3 separate regions of the Homo sapiens genome follow, and all the other regions are linked to region 1. Evidence: promoter capture Hi-C in 16 types of primary human blood cells and fetal thymus (Javierre and others, 2016). All regions are on one chromosome and are shown on one strand. Each heading gives the region's core, a stretch centred on a gene start or on the middle of the fragment in contact. The rest is flanking DNA. Distances are from core to core; before and after follow the strand shown. Region 1 holds the start of KCNJ11 (potassium inwardly rectifying channel subfamily J member 11). Region 2 has its middle 4.6 kb from the start of C11orf58. Region 3 overlaps PLEKHA7 (pleckstrin homology domain containing A7).

Region 1 (5,137 bases), core at 2,638-5,137:
CTCTCTGTGTCTTAAAAGGACACCAGTCATATTGGATTAGGGCCCCACCCCTATTACCTCATTAAACCTTAATTATCTCCTCACAGGCCCTGTTTCCAAATACAGTTACATTGTAGGATTAGGCTTCAACCTGTGAATTTGGCAGGACACAATTATGTCCATAGCAAGGGTGATAGCATTTCTGCAATGAGCTTATCAGATAAGGTAACAGATCTCCATACAGCTTGGTCTCCTTTCTTCTCACTTTCATTCTTGAATTAAAATCTGGATTAACACTATTTCAATTGCAAATGACAGGAACCCAATTCAAAGTAACCTAAGCAGAAACTGAATTTATTGAATATGTGACTGACAAGGCTAAGAGGTATACTACTTCAAGCATGGCTGGACCCAGGTGTTTGACATCCATCTGGGATGTGTCTTCCTTTCTGGGTTCCATTTTCCTCCCCTTTCATTATGACAGATGGCCACTAGCAGGTCCAGCTTACATCCTGCCCCAAGGCAACCCAAGAGGCAAAACAGATACTCCTTCCCAATAGTTCCAGCAAAAGCTTGGGAGCAAATCTCAATGCACCAACTTGGATCACATTCCCATCCCCACCCCACTGTGATCAGAGGGGTGGCATACACTGGCTGGCTAGGCCTGGATCATGTCTCCATCTCCATCCCTCAAGCAGGGGCATTCAGAAGTGGAAAGGTGGTCCTTCAGAGGGAAAGCACAGTGCATGAGTCACAGGTCAGCCAGGTGGTGTCTGGGAGACGCTGGAGCCCAGACACCAGGGAGACTAAAACAGCAGCTGTCCTGACTTCCTCTGCATCACGAAACAAGAGTGCACACCTGCCCTTGGCCAAGAAATGGCAGGTGCTCATTTACATCTCATTTTATGATCATTTGCATATCATCTGCAGTACTGGCTGCACCAAGCCCTGAGGTGCAGACCTAAGAGTCTTGAACCTGCATCCTCTTGGCTGCAAGGGGATCATAGAGGCACAACATAAGAAAAGCCCACCAGTTATCGGAGGCAGGTCCAGTGCAGACCCCTGTGGATGTTCCAGGAGCCAGAGAAGCTCGGAAAGGAAGAGCTCTGTAAAGCCTGGCAGCCTGCCTGGAAAAGACAAAATTTGAGTTAAATATTGTGGGGGATAGGGATTGGTTAGGCAGAAAGTCAGAGAAAGGGTTGGGGTGGCAGGTAGGGACAGCAGGAGCTAAGGAGTGATGGTGGAAGTGTGTTAAGAGTGTTGGTTGATCAGGGAGGTGGGAGAGAGATTACAGCAGTGGGGAGGGCATCATATCAGAGAGCCCTGAATGCCAGAGCAAGGAGTGTGGGCTATGCCCATGGACAAAAAGGGAGAAGGGTTTTGAGCAAGAAAGCGACTTGACAAGTTCAGTATTTGGTGGAGATGACTATAAGCAAGTGCAGGATGGAGCAAAAGGGGAGGCTGAGCCTTTCAGGTGGGAGACTCAGCCTCTCAGAAGGGTGAGCAGCAGGGAGGGAGGTAAGGCCTCAAGGCTGCACCAGGAGGCAGAACCCAGCCTTTCCAGCTCTGAGATTTCCCCAGGGGCCCAGCAGCTTCCTCCACTGTGAGATCTCCCAAGAGCAGAGCCGGGGAACTGAAAGAGGACTCCACAAGCCTACCACTGCTCCAAAGCCACCCCACCTCAACAGATTGAAGGGAAGTAGCAGGGGCAGGGCTGGGCCCACAGTGAGGTGTTGCAGGGATGCCCAAGGTCATCCTGGCCCAAAATCCCTGTATAACATCCCTCATGGCCCACCGACTTGATTTGGGTACCCCACAGATGTGGCTCATCTCTGGTTATTGTTATTAGAACTGACTCTTGCATATGTGAAACCAAAGCCTGCCTCTGTTCCACTTAGTGTCCTGGTTCTACCCTTTGGGCCACAAAAAACTACTAGTTCATCCTCCTTCAAGGCCAGGTGTTTCTGCAATAGTGCCCAAATCCCTGGGGGACTTTCCTTTTCTGATGGCTGGACAGTTGTAGTTGCCTCAGAGATTTCCCCATGTAACCCTGTCTCCTTGAGCTTCCCACTCTGCTCATCTCATTTTACCCTCCCCTTCCTAGACACTGCATCTTTGTTAATATAGCCCATGATCACACCCATCCTTTGTAGCGGTGTTCGCTCTGCCTGCAGGTGGGTAGGGAGAGAAAGGAAAATCCAATATAAAATGCATATCTTGCCCCCACTGTGGCCCACAGCCACACTGCCTTTTCCAGACCCTGTCTCAAGCCCCCACTCCAACAAAATGGCCGCAGATGGTCAGGGGTTCTTCCATAAGGATCTGAGCCACAGACAGCGGTAAAGCCGTTACTGTTCCAACAACAGAGATCTAGCAGGCTTTCCCTCCCAGCTGAGAACCCGGGTCCATGCCACAGGGCAGCCTCAGGCTGATGCCTGAACAGAAACACCACCATGCCGGGACCAAGAGCCTGGGTCCCCCAGTGCCCGAGGCAGCCCTAACACACTGTTCAGGCCTAAATACCACCCATGACCTAACGTGGAAGAAGTCAGGTGACAGGTGTGAGAAAGTGTAAAGCAAGTGGCCTCGGCTCAAACCTTCTTTAAAGTAGGGCCGGAATGGCTGAGAAGATGGAGCCGCCCAGGCTGCCCCACAGCAGTAGCAGGTGTTAAACTGTGCTCCTTTCCTGCCGAGGCCTTTTTTTTTTTTTTTTTTTTTTTTTTTTTTAATGAGAGGGAGTCTGAGCTTCCATCAGATTGTCAAAGGATTCAAGACTAAGATTAAGAGCATCCCCCAAAGAGAAGCAGCTGCAGGTTGAGAAGTCCTCGGACCGCCTAATTTCCGCCAGCCCTGGGATTGGTGGCGCCGCCTCTCAGCGCCTCCTTTCCCGGGGAACCTGCAAACCTGGCGCGGCCGAGAGGCGGATTACTGACCCAAATACGGATGGGGATATTGGGGGAGGGGAGCCAGGGCGACAGGGCGGCGGCCCCAGACTGGGAGGGCGGGTCACAGATCCCTCCCAGCCCCCCACTTTCGTAGAGCGTGGGCAGGAGGAACCTCTGGGTTCCGCGGATCAGAAAAACTCCAAAGGCCGGGTTGTGAGTCCCGGGAGGGGAGGTGGAGGGCGGGGGCGGGGAGGGGCGCGGGAGGGGCGGGGGCTTGCTCCGGCCCCGCCCCCTGCGCTCCGGTGCAGGTCGGGCTCCCCCTGGCGGTCCCCGGCCCCGTTCCTCTCCTCGTGCGCCCCCCTCCCGCCGTCCTAGACCCCTGCCTAGCCCAGGTCGGTCTCCGCGGACCCACGGACGGACAGACAGACGGGAGGACGGCCAGCCGCGAGCGCCCGGGCGGCGGGAGGGGGCGGGGAGGCGACGGCCGTGGCGTGAGGAGCAGGAGCAGGTGCAGCGGCGGCGGCGGGCGGGGCCGGGACCCGGCGCGGAGCGGGAGCCGCGGCGCGGGCGGGCGGCAGGGACCGGGAGGCCGCGACTCGGAGTCAGCCCCGCCGGGTCGCGCGCAGGTCCGGGGAGCCGCGGTTGAGCCGGGTGGGGTGGTGACTCCAGAGAACGCAGGATCCCAAGGAGACAGAGAGGACGAGAGCTGGAGGGGGATCCGGAAAGCGGCGGGGGCGCTCCGGGAGGGGTGGAGTAGGACATAGGGGGCGCACCTGGAGGAGAGACGGGGCGGGGGTGGCCAGGACCTGAGCTGGAGCCTGGGAGCCCGAAGGCCAGACAGGTGAGGCGGGAGACCCGGAGGTGGGGGTGAGGTCCGGTTAGTGGGAGAGATCCGGAGGTGTTAAGTTCTGAGCTGGGCTGGGAAGGCAGGCTGGGCGGGGAGAAGGGCTCTTAGCGGGAGGCCCAGGGGTGGTCAGCTGGTGGGGGAAGCTGGGGGAGGACGCAGGGCCAGGTGGAGAGCCGGCAGGGTTGGGGGCTCCCTAGGCGCCAGGCAGGTGGGCTCAAGGGTGAGGCTGTTTTTTTTGTTTTGTTTTTTGTTTTTGAGACGGAGTCTCGCTCTGTCGCCCAGGCTGGAGTGCAGTGGCGTGATCTTGGCTCACTGCAACCTCCGCCTCTCGGGTTCAAGCGATTCTCCTGCCTCAGCTTCCTGAGTAGCTGGGATTACAGGTGCGCACCACCATGCCCGGCTAACTTTTGTATTTTTAGTAGAGATGGGGTTTCACCATGTTGGTCAGGCTGGTCTCGAACTCCTGACCTAGTGATCTGCCCTCCTCAGCCTCCCAACGTACTGGGATTACAGGCGTGAGCCACCGCGCCCGGCCTGAGGCTGGTATTAAGAAGTGAAGTGGGACCCAGGTGGAGGTAAGGAAGAGTCTGGTGGGGAGTTATCTCAGAAGTGAGGCCAGCACAGGCTGAGTGCAGCCCCAGGGTGAGAAGGTGCCCACCGAGAGGACTCTGCAGTGAGGCCCTAGGCCACGTCCGAGGGGTGCCTCCGATGGGGGAAGCCCCTCCCTGGGGGTCACCGGAGCCATGCTGTCCCGCAAGGGCATCATCCCCGAGGAATACGTGCTGACACGCCTGGCAGAGGACCCTGCCAAGCCCAGGTACCGTGCCCGCCAGCGGAGGGCCCGCTTTGTGTCCAAGAAAGGCAACTGCAACGTGGCCCACAAGAACATCCGGGAGCAGGGCCGCTTCCTGCAGGACGTGTTCACCACGCTGGTGGACCTCAAGTGGCCACACACATTGCTCATCTTCACCATGTCCTTCCTGTGCAGCTGGCTGCTCTTCGCCATGGCCTGGTGGCTCATCGCCTTCGCCCACGGTGACCTGGCCCCCAGCGAGGGCACTGCTGAGCCCTGTGTCACCAGCATCCACTCCTTCTCGTCTGCCTTCCTTTTCTCCATTGAGGTCCAAGTGACTATTGGCTTTGGGGGGCGCATGGTGACTGAGGAGTGCCCACTGGCCATCCTGATCCTCATCGTGCAGAACATCGTGGGGCTCATGATCAACGCCATCATGCTTGGCTGCATCTTCATGAAGACTGCCCAAGCCCACCGCAGGGCTGAGACCCTCATCTTCAGCAAGCATGCGGTGATCGCCCTGCGCCACGGCCGCCTCTGCTTCATGCTACGTGTGGGTGACCTCCGCAAGAGCATGATCATCAGCGCCACCATCCACATGCAGGTGGTACGCAAGACCACCAGCCCCGAGGG
Region 2 (5,137 bases), core at 669-3,168, 650 kb after region 1:
ATAAGAAAGGATTGTCAATAAGAATAGTAGTTACTATATAATTTTAATTTTACTAGTTGGTGAAAGTCCAGAAAACTTTAATGAGCTAGCAACATGTCTTTTATTTCTTCACCAGAATTGTTGGCACCTGGATGGTAAATCTTCAAGTTACTGTGAAACAAGATCACAAACGAAAAAGTAACATAGGAAATACTAAAGACTGGGACATTTTATCAGATTTTACTCAGTTTCATATACAGAAGGCTATAGGTAAGGATGAAATTATACAGTGTAATAGAATGCATATATGCCACAGAAACTCAGTAATGCTCCTCTTTCTTGTATTGTAAAAACAAAGATACACTATCATGAGTGAAACAATGAAATACCTCCTTCAGAATTGGGACTGTTGCATCTGCATTTTTGTTTCTGGCGCAATGCCTGCCACACGGTAGTTAATAAATGTTTCTGAATTAATATAGGAAGGATGAAATTATATAGTACCAGAGTGGTATCTTATATGAGGCCTAGAAACTCAGCAATGTTCTTCTTTCTTGGGTAGTAAAGACAAGGAGAGGAGGCCCTGTCACTGAGAACTTTACATTTTTTTAAATTTTCCCAACATTTAGCATGTAGTGGGCAGTCACAGATGTTTGTCGAGTACGTGCTCTCAACCAGGGATAGTCATGATTGACCATAGTTAAAACTGAAGAGGAAATAAAGGCTTTGAAGATTATGCTGTGTACAAAAAATCTGCTGTTTCACTTGAGACTAAAAAAAAAAATTCCTAGGGCCTTAATTACAGTTACCATTTATTAAATACCCACCATGTACCATATACTTTGCTAGGTGCTTTTTATAGGTGATTTTTACAATTGACCTCAAAGTTTCACAATAATTTGCAAGAAGTAGGGAATTTTATAGGTAATTAAACTTAAGAAAAGTTAAATACTTGCTTAAAATAATGTAGCTAGTGAATGATTCAGTCCTTAAGTCTAATTCCAAAAGCCAGTGCACTTTCCACTGTGCCAATATAACCCAACATTAAATAAGATGCTTCATATATGTCAGGAAGTGTGCCAAGTTTGAGGAAAACCAGAGTGAATAATGCATAATCCTTTACTGCAAAGAGTTTACAGCTTGGCAGGAGAATGATTAAATGGCATCAGTAAATTACAAATAAAATGCTGTAGAACAGTTCATTTTGGCTGAGGGAAATTGGAAAATTATTTCCCAAAAGTTTTTGAGCTAGGCCTTGAAAAAACAGTTTGGGCAGGATGGGGCATATATTCAGTGATGGTTAGTGTCCAGTGTGCTGAAACCTGATAAGCCTAAAAGTATTGTATTCTGAGACAAAATTCTATAGGCTGATCAAAGCCGGGCTGTGAAAAGCCTTGAGTTTAACTCTCTCACTATATGGGTTCAGATTAAGATAATCTCTTCCATAGATCTGTGTGACCTGTTTTCTAATACTTCTCCATTTAAATTCATTTTATGCATTCTAGGCAGATTCAGCCTCTGAAAATGGAATGTAGAGATTCTACTGCTCAAAAACTTCTTGGAGCTCCCCATTTTATACAGAATTAAGTTGATAGAATTAAGCCTATAATTAAAATAAGAATTCAGTTCTTGAGGTCAGAATAAGGTCGATATTCTGATCTCAATAATCCATTCCAGTCTTATTTTCTACTATTATCTTTAACTTATCTTGATTAGCCCACCACAACAAAAATAAGTGCTATAATAAAGGTATTGAACAAAGATACTAGTCTTGTTGACTGTTCTAGACTCTCAGCTGCTTTTGGGTAGGATCTAAGCTTAGCACCATGACATATAAACTATCACTCAATAGATATTTGTTGTTTTAATATATGAATCGGTGAGGTTAGAGAGGAGCAAGTTTATGTGGTAGGATGACTTTGATTTTAGACATGTTAAAGTATTAGTAGGACACCAAGTGGAACTGTTAAAAATATGGGCTTCAAAGTTAGGAGAGAGCAATAAACTTAGAAATCACCCATCTAGAGGTGGTGGGTCAACAAGGAGAGTAACTAAGCTTACCTAGTGAGTGCCTAGAAGAGAGATACTTGGAAAAGAACAAGAAGGAGAAGATTTAAGGATAGAATGAGGAAGAAGAGCCTGAGGTTAGAAGGTAGACATAGAACTAGAAGAAGGAGAGGTTAGTGTCATTGAAGCAAAGGGAAAAAATGTGAAAAATGCATTATTCCACTGTGGTGGACTATGAGATGAAGCCCATTTAGAAGCTGATTTTAAAGGCATAATATAAATGCAACTCTAGGGTCTAACACAGAATCTTGAAAACAAGGTATAAATAAATACATATTTGTGGTTGATGATGGTTGATGATTGGGTAACTCCCATTCTGTCCATTGGGCAGGCAGATTTGTCAGAGTGCTACTGTGATTTAAAATGTGGCACTATAAATATTAACTTGATTATTTTACACATACCTAGGAACTTAAATGAAAAAGGAATGAAAAGGGAAATGAAAAATGTATTGCTTAAAATTGCTTCAATAAAATTGTTGTTGATGTATATCTTCTTTTTTTTTTTTTTTTTTTGAGACAAAGTCTCGCTCTGTCACCCAGGCTAGAGTGCAGTGGCACGATCTTGGGTCACTGCAGGCTCTGCCTTCCAGGTTCATGCCATTCTCCTGCCTCAGCCTCCTGAGTAGCTGGGACTACAGGTGCCTGCCACCATGCCCGGCTAATTTTTTTGTATTTTTAGTAGAGATGGGGTTTCACCGTATTATCCAGGATGGTCTCGCTCTCCTGACCCTGTGATCCACCCGCCTCGGCCTCCCAAAGTGCTGGGATTACAGACGTGAGCCACCGTGCCTGGCCCTTTTTTTTTTTTTTTTTTTTATACTTTAAGTTCTGGGATACATGTGCAGAACATGAAGGTTTGTTACATAGGTATATACGTGCCATGATGGTTTGCTGCACCCATCAACCCATCATCTGCATTAGGTATTTCTCATAATGCTATCCCTCCCCTAGCCCCCCACCCCCAACAGGCCCCGGTATGTGATATTCCCCTCCCTGTGTCCATGTGTTCTCATTGTTCAACTGCCGCTTATGAGTGGGAACATGTCGTGTTTGGTTTTTCTATTCTTGTGATGGTTTGCTGAGACTCATGGTTTCCAGCTTTATCCATGTCCCTGCAAAGGACCTGAACTCATCCTTTTTTATGACTGCATAGTATTCCATGGTGTATATGTGCCACATTTTCTTTATCCAGTCTATCATTGATGGGTATTTGGGTTGGTTCCAAGTCTTTGCTATTGTGAACAGTGCTCCAATAAACATACATGTGCATCTGTCTTTAAAGTACAATGATTTATAATCCTTTGGGTGTATACCCAGTAATGGGATTTCTGGGCCAAATGGCATTTCTTGTTCTAGATCCTTGAGGAATTGTCACACTGTCTTCCACAATGGTTGAACTAATTCACATTCTCACCAACAGTGTAAAAGCGTTCCTATTTCTCCACATTCTATCCAGCATCTGTTGTTTCTTGACTTTTTAATGATTGCCCTTCTAACTGGTGTGAGATGATTGTAGTTTTGATTTGCATTTCTCTAATGACTAGTGATGGTGAGCTTTTTCTCATGTTTGTTGGCTGCATAAGTGTCTTCTTTTGAGAAGTGTCTGTTCATATCCTTCACCCACTTTTTGATGGGGTTGTTTTTTTCTTGTAAATTTGTTTTAAGTTCTGTGCAGATTCTGGATATTAGCACTTTGTCAGATGGATAGATTGCAAAAATTTTTCTCCCATTCTGTAGGTTGCCTGTTCACTGCAATGATAGTTTCTTTTGCTGTGCAGAAGCTCTTTAGTTTAATTAGATCCTATTTGTCAGTTTTGGCTTTTGTTGCCATTGTTTTTGGTGTTTTAGTCATTAAGTCTTTGCCTGTGCTTATGTTCTGTATGGTATTGCCTAGGTTTTCATCTAGGGTTTTTATGGTTTTAGGTCTTACATGTAAGTCTTTAATCCACCTTGAGTTAATTTTTGTATAAAGTGTAAGGAAGGGGTCCAGTTTCAGTTTTCTGCATGTGGCTAGCCAGTTTTCCCAAAGCCATTTAGTAAATAAGGAATCCTTTCCCCGTTGCTTGTTTGTGTCAGGTTCGTCAAAGATCAGATAGTTGTAGATGTGTGATATTATTTCAGAAGCCTCTGTTCTGTTCTGTTGGTCTATATGTCTGTTTTGGTACCAGTACCATGCTGTTTTGGTTACTGTAGCCTTGTAGCTTAGTTTGAAGTGAGGTATTGTGATGCCTCCAGCTTTGTTCTTTTTGCTTAGGATTGTCTGGGGTATATGGGCTCTTTTTTGTTTCCATATGAAACGAAGTAGTTTTTTCTAATTTGTGAAGAAAGTCAATGGTAGCTTGATGGGGATAGCATTGAATCTATAAATTAACTTGGGCAGTGTGGCCATTTTCACAATATTGATTCTGCCTATTCATAAGCATGGAATGTTTTTCCATTTATTTGTGTCCTCTCTTATTTCCTTGAGCAGTGGTTTGTAGTTCTCCTTGAAGAGGTCCTTCACATCAATTCTAAGTTGTATTCCTGGGTATTTTATTCTCTTTGTAGCAATTGTGGATGGGAGTTCACTCATGATTTGGCTCTCTGTCTATTATTGGTGTATAGGAATGCTTGTGATTTTTGTACATTGAGTTTGTGTTCTGAGACTTTGCTGAAGTTGCTTATCAGCTTAAGGAGATTTTGGGCTGAGATGTTGGTGTTTTCAAAATATGCAATCATGTTGTCTGCAAACAGAGACAATCTGACTTCCTCATTTCCTAATTGAATACCCTTTATTTCTTTCTCTTGCCTGATTGCCCTGGCCAGAACTTCCAATACTATGTTGAATAGGAGTGGTGAGAGAGGGTATCCTTGTCTTGTGCATTTCAAAGGAAATGCTTCCGGTTTTTGCCCATTCAGTATGATACTGGCTGTGGGTTTGTCATAAATAGCTCTTATTATTTTGAGATACATTCCATCAATATCTAATTTATTGAGAGTTTTTAGTATGAAAGGGTGTTGAATTTTATCGAAGGCCTTTTCTGCATCTATTGAGATAATCACATGGGTTTTGTCATTGGTTCTGTGTATGCGATGGATTACATTTATTG
Region 3 (5,137 bases), core at 967-3,466, 600 kb after region 1:
AAATCCATGCTTTACACCTGGACAGTAGACAGGGACTTCAGAGATTGCACGTTTGAATACATTCTCCCAAGACTGAGGTTGTTCGGTTTTAATTCCTGTAGTCCAATCACACAATTTCTTATGGAAAACCTTTTGTGTTTCTGGTATTTAATAACTTGAAGGGATAGCAAAATATACTGTGTATTCAGAGGGCCTCTCTGCAGCTGCTAGCTCAGACACCAAAGGGGTAAGGCCCAGGACATTCATATCTTTAAAAGCTGCAAACCTGGTAACCTTTAAACTTTTAAAACAAATGTCATATGGGGTAACACTGACCTTTTATAATTTGATGTCTCAAATGTAGAGATTATCTAAAAATCGTAACTTGAATACCTTGTAATTTTTCTCTTAAAAAAGAAGACTTGTGTAAGTCTCTGCATCAACGCCAATAAACATGTTGCTTAATAATAATGGATTGGCGTGGTTCTTCCCCAGGATACCTTATAGAGTCTAGTGAACTTTTCCTGTTTGTGGAAACAATCAGGCTGGGTTTAAATGAGGACTTGTCTCTATTTGGAGCATTTGTGAGCGTGTAAGGAAATGAGTGTTTTCTTTGTGAATCATTAAATTGATTTTTTCATCTTTGGAACTTCAGTTGCCTAATCCTTTCCAACAATAGTTGGAAACCATCACCTAAGAGTGATTACATTGATTTGGAGTCATTGAGAGCTTGTGCATGAATGGGTGAAATGTGCGAATATGGCTCTGGGTTTGGGGTTCTGGAGGGACTTGAGGCATCAAAGACAATCAGGACCATTTGGGGCTTTGAGGTGGATGGATGGGAGAGAGAAGATGGCCTGGGATAGATAAGCATCTGCTTTGGTTTTGCTCAGGGGAAGAGAGGCTTTGAGCCTGCTCTGTTCTCAACAACCTGCTCAGCGGTCAAAGGCCTGTGAGGATGCAGGTCCTGGGTCAACAGGAAGTCACCACGGAGCTGGACAGTCATGGTTGGATCTTATCGGTTAGATTTTCCCTCTTGGGAAGCTTGTTACAAAGTTGATACTGTGAAACAGCCTTAGAAACATTCCATTTGATTTAGCATTTCAATTTTATATGATTTAGTTTTTTTTTCTAATTTAAAGAAAACATCTATCTCAAATAGATGGGTCTCATACAGCAGTTTTTCTGCCTCATTGGCTCCAAGCTGCTTTTGCTTGTACCTCCCCAGCCCTACTGTAAGTGCGAGATCCCCCACCTACGAATGTTATCTTGTTGAAAATTCCCAATAGAAAGATCCTTGGTTATTCTTCTTGCTTAGCAGGGCCTTGAAGGGCGTGTTTTTCCATTAATTCTGAGCCTGGGACGTATGTCTCCTGAACCAGCTGTAGAGAGTGGAAGGGACAAATCCCTTCTCTAGAACTCTGTCCCAAGTTGTTTGGAGGTCACCCTCTCTGGGAGCCTTCTATTTCCCTGGGGACCACTGTGAGCCTGAAGTCATGAGTCTTAGACCTGTGCCCCAAGGGTGTATGTTTGAAACCTCTGGGAACCCAGATCAGAGAGCACTTAGCAGTCTGGAACAGCCCATATGAAGGGGACAGCAGCTTCATTCTCTATTGCACATACAGCTTTTCCCTAAGGGGATCACAGGTTCATCTTCCAAAGGACCCCATGGAAAAAGGTGACCAGCCGGGCTCTTTCAGCAATCAGGAAGCGACTACGTTTAACCTCTTGTTCTGTTGCCAGTGGAAGCGTGAGCAGGACTTTGACCTGCAGTTGCTGGAACGGGTCGTGCAAGGGGAAAAAAAGGACAAGGAGGAGAATGGCTGGTTGAAAGTGCAGGCCATGCCTGTCACTGAGTTGGACCTGGAGCCTCAAGACTATGACTTGGACATCAGCAGAGAGGTGAGGGCAGGCACTTCCTTCATGTCCTCCAGGAGACATGGCCTTCAAGTTCCCAGCCTGATCCACCTTCCCACTGTGGGGTATCATCCTGAACAGGGACATGGCTCAGCTTCAGTGTGGCCTAGGAGGATGGATGGATAGCAGCTTAAGGCAATGAAAGGAGGCCAGATGTTTCGATGAAGGTTCAAAACTCTCTGTAATTTAGGGCAAATTGCAATTTTAGCTTCTCTGTGCTTCAGTTTCCTCAACAGTGAAGTGGGTTGTGAAGAGGATTAAGTAACTGCACATGTTCTTGGGAGGTTTAGCGATCAAAGCCACATAGTAGGCACGTGAGCAGCAGTTGTTATTGTTAGGAAATGTTCCCTGCAACACCAGGGGTTGGCTTTTCAACTGGCTGGTGAGGCCAACTTGGGCAGTCTGACTAGGGGAAAATGGGGGGCAGGTTTGAAAATCACAGGCGAAATTTCCAGCCATGGTAGAAGCTAGGAGACAGTGCAGAGTTCTGGTCTGAATTCTTCTGGTGCCCTCTGGTGGCTCACATGCATCATGACAGGGCAGGCCCAGGAGAGCAAGTAACTCCTGGATCTCTACCCATCAGGAAATGTCTCTACCCAAGGGGAGAGAAAGGGAACTCGGGATGACACACTCAGTGTCTTCAAGACGTAGATTGTCTCCTGTGGCCTATGTCGATGCTATTCCTAAGCTCTTCAGGGCAGCGTCTATGGCTGCTTGGTTCACCTTTGTATCCCTAGTCCCTGGCACAGGGCCTGGCACACAGTGGGTACGTGGTACATCTTTGCTGCATCTTTGACTGTGTTGAATGAATCACACAGTGACCCATAAATGTACCAAAAGCATTTGTACAAGGACTTGGCCTGCCTGGAAACTGCACAAGAGGAAATGTTCTCACCACATGAAGGATGGATCGAGGCGAGACCTCAATAAAACTTTCCCCCAGGTCTGTGTGATAGGAGAGTGAGAACTGAGGAGGACCTGTGTCTTCCAGAGCCTTCCTGCTGTCTTAAGAGGTGGTGCCAGGCCCATTCACAAGCTGATTTGCCAATGGTATCTACCTGACTCAGTATGTTAGGGGTTCCTCTGGTCTTTGGGAACAAAGGAACAGTGTGTGGATAAGATAGATGCCTGTACAGTTGTTGAGTTTTGGGGTCTGCTGGGGCTCTAGGAGTTAACAAGGCTGGTCCCCTGCCCCAAGACCTTGTTCCTTTGCCATCTGAAACAGCCAAAGGTCTGTGCGTTCTCAGATTCACAAAAGAAGCCCCAACATGCTGCCTTGGCAGGGGAAGTGTGTTCTGTAGTGTCCTGATTGCCTGCCAGCCCAGGGAAAAAGTTCTTCCTTATCTCTAACCTAAATTCCTCCTGCTACAATGTAATCTGCTTCCTTCCTCTAAATCTGTCCTCATTGGAGTAACAGAGAAGAGCTTATTTCTTGCCATCTCCAACAGAGTGAAAGGGCTGCGTGTGGGTTTAAATCCATGACCTGATTTGCCCTGGGATTGGATTAAGCTTGTTTTTAGGAGCTTCAACCCACCCCATTTTAGTGTGCTTTTGTAATTCAGGGAGGAAAAAGTTCCTGGAGCATGCAGAAGCTTCCTTTCGTGTTCTTAGTCCAAGCAAGGTTTCACCAAGCCGAGTTTGCCACTAGGTCCACGGGAGATGCTGGTGAGGTGAAATTTGGGGCCATTTTCCTCTGGCCAGCAGTAGATTCAGCATAGCTGCCTCCTGTCTAGATCAGAAGAGCTTTTTTAGGGACAGAAAGCACCATCACATCCTTTCATTCACCCACCTGTCAATCATCCATTTATCCATTATCCATCCATTCAGGGAGAATTAGTTGGAGGGCTACTAAGTACTAAGTCCCTGCATTAGACAGAGGGAGACAATGGTGAATGGAAAGTGAGGGGGTGGAGGGGATCAGAGAAGGATCCTCAAAGTGAGGTTGAAAAGATGAGAGTCAAGGGAACAAAAGGAAGAGCTTCCCAGACAGAACAGAGGCCCCACTGTGGGCGGGGAACTGGAGGGACTGGTTGATCAGTGGCTGGAGAGGTCATCAGGGGTCAGATCACTTAGGGCCTTGACGGTGGCATTAAGGATGATCATTTTTTATCCTGAGAGCTTGTAGTCTAGTTATTTCGCCCTTCCCTTCCCCCAGCCTGTAGGAGGTTGGCTGGTGGAGTGGAAGGAACATGAGCTTTGGAGTCGGACTCAGGTTCAAACCTGGATTCCACAACTGACTAATTTTGTGATCTTAGCAAGTTACTTAGTCTCTGTGGACTCTGCTTGCTTCCCATGGTGGGAGGGGACAGAGGTGGGGAAAGCGAGTCCTAAACCCAGACATCTGAGCCTCTCCCTCTGCCACCTCCTGGCCTCTCCCCAGCTGTCCAAACCAGAGAAGGTGTCAATCCCTGAGCGCTACGTGGAGCTAGATCCCGAAGAGCCACCCAGCCTTGAGGAGCTGCAGGCGCGGTACCGCAAAGCCGAGAAGATCCGCAACATCCTCGCCCGGTCAAGGTCAGCCCTCGCTTGCTCAAGTGTTGGCAGGTCACCCTGACCCCAGGTGGCGTCTCTACCATGTGGGCCCTGGGCCGGGCTGGCTGGGGTGCGTGTTTTGCCAGGTCTTCGTCTCAGGTAAGCCCTACTCATTGGAGGGGGCAGGCTGGTACATCGCCAGCAGATCAGCAAGGGAGCCTGCCTGGGTCATCTGGAAAGACCTGCAACATTCGTAGAGGCTTCTTGTCCTGGGCTGTCACCCCCAATTCTGTGTCCCAAGTGACCCTAGCAAGTGTGGAGAATGGAGCCAAGCGTGGCCGTGAAGTGGACCCCGTTGGAGATCAGCTCCAGTGATGGCCTGCCAGCATTCGGGCCTGTGCACCCTCATGCAGACCAGCGGATCAGAGCCAAGGGTGCCAGCCTTGTCCGTAGGGCACCAGAGGCATTGCCCACTCCCCTGGATGCTGGCCTGGGGTCCTCTGAAGTGACTTTACTGTCCCCTAAGCCTCAATAGCTTCAGAAATTTAATCTTGTTTGTAAGCCTCCCTTTCAGAGCTGGCTTAGCCATCTCATGTCTGAATTTAATAAGAGCCTCCAGCTAGAGCCGTGAACTTAAGGTCTGTGGCCTTCCCAAAGGAGGAACAAAGCTGGGACCGTTTGGGTGTTTGGGGAAAAGCATGTACCTTTGTCTAGGGAGAAAGTACCACAGTTTTTGTCTGATCCCCCTCAAAATGTTGAGAACCTCTAG

Evidence for each region. Contacts are between HindIII fragments. The CHiCAGO score rates a contact against its expected background, and 5 or more counts as called.
Region 2: a contact is called between a fragment that was not itself captured here and the fragment with the promoter of KCNJ11 in region 1, in 2 of 17 cell types (activated CD4 T cells and naive CD8 T cells). The highest score is 6.5, in activated CD4 T cells.
Region 3: a contact is called between a fragment that was not itself captured here and the fragment with the promoter of KCNJ11 in region 1, in 1 of 17 cell types (naive CD4 T cells). The highest score is 5.5, in naive CD4 T cells.

Annotation. Positions count from the first base shown.
Region 1 is chr11:17,387,409-17,392,545 of GRCh38, reverse strand. It overlaps KCNJ11 (potassium inwardly rectifying channel subfamily J member 11), which reads left to right and starts at 3,887. Exons shown (of 1, transcript NM_000525.4): 1 at 3,887-5,137. The coding sequence starts at 4,455. It also overlaps a transcript of ABCC8 not described here. RefSeq lists silencers at 2,807-2,906, 2,987-3,496 and an enhancer at 4,705-5,137. The HindIII fragment of the contact is 14,360 bases long and covers 554-5,137 here.
Region 2 is chr11:16,731,451-16,736,587 of GRCh38, reverse strand. It overlaps a transcript of SOX6 not described here. Among named protein-coding and RNA genes, the nearest start is that of C11orf58, 4.6 kb to the left of the region's middle. The HindIII fragment of the contact is 239 bases long and covers 1,799-2,037 here.
Region 3 is chr11:16,782,973-16,788,109 of GRCh38, reverse strand. It overlaps PLEKHA7 (pleckstrin homology domain containing A7), which reads left to right. Exons shown (of 27, transcript NM_001329630.2): 24 at 1,723-1,881; 25 at 4,277-4,410. Among named protein-coding and RNA genes, the nearest start is that of C11orf58, 47 kb to the right of the region's middle. RefSeq lists an enhancer at 4,832-5,137. The HindIII fragment of the contact is 2,382 bases long and covers 1,026-3,407 here.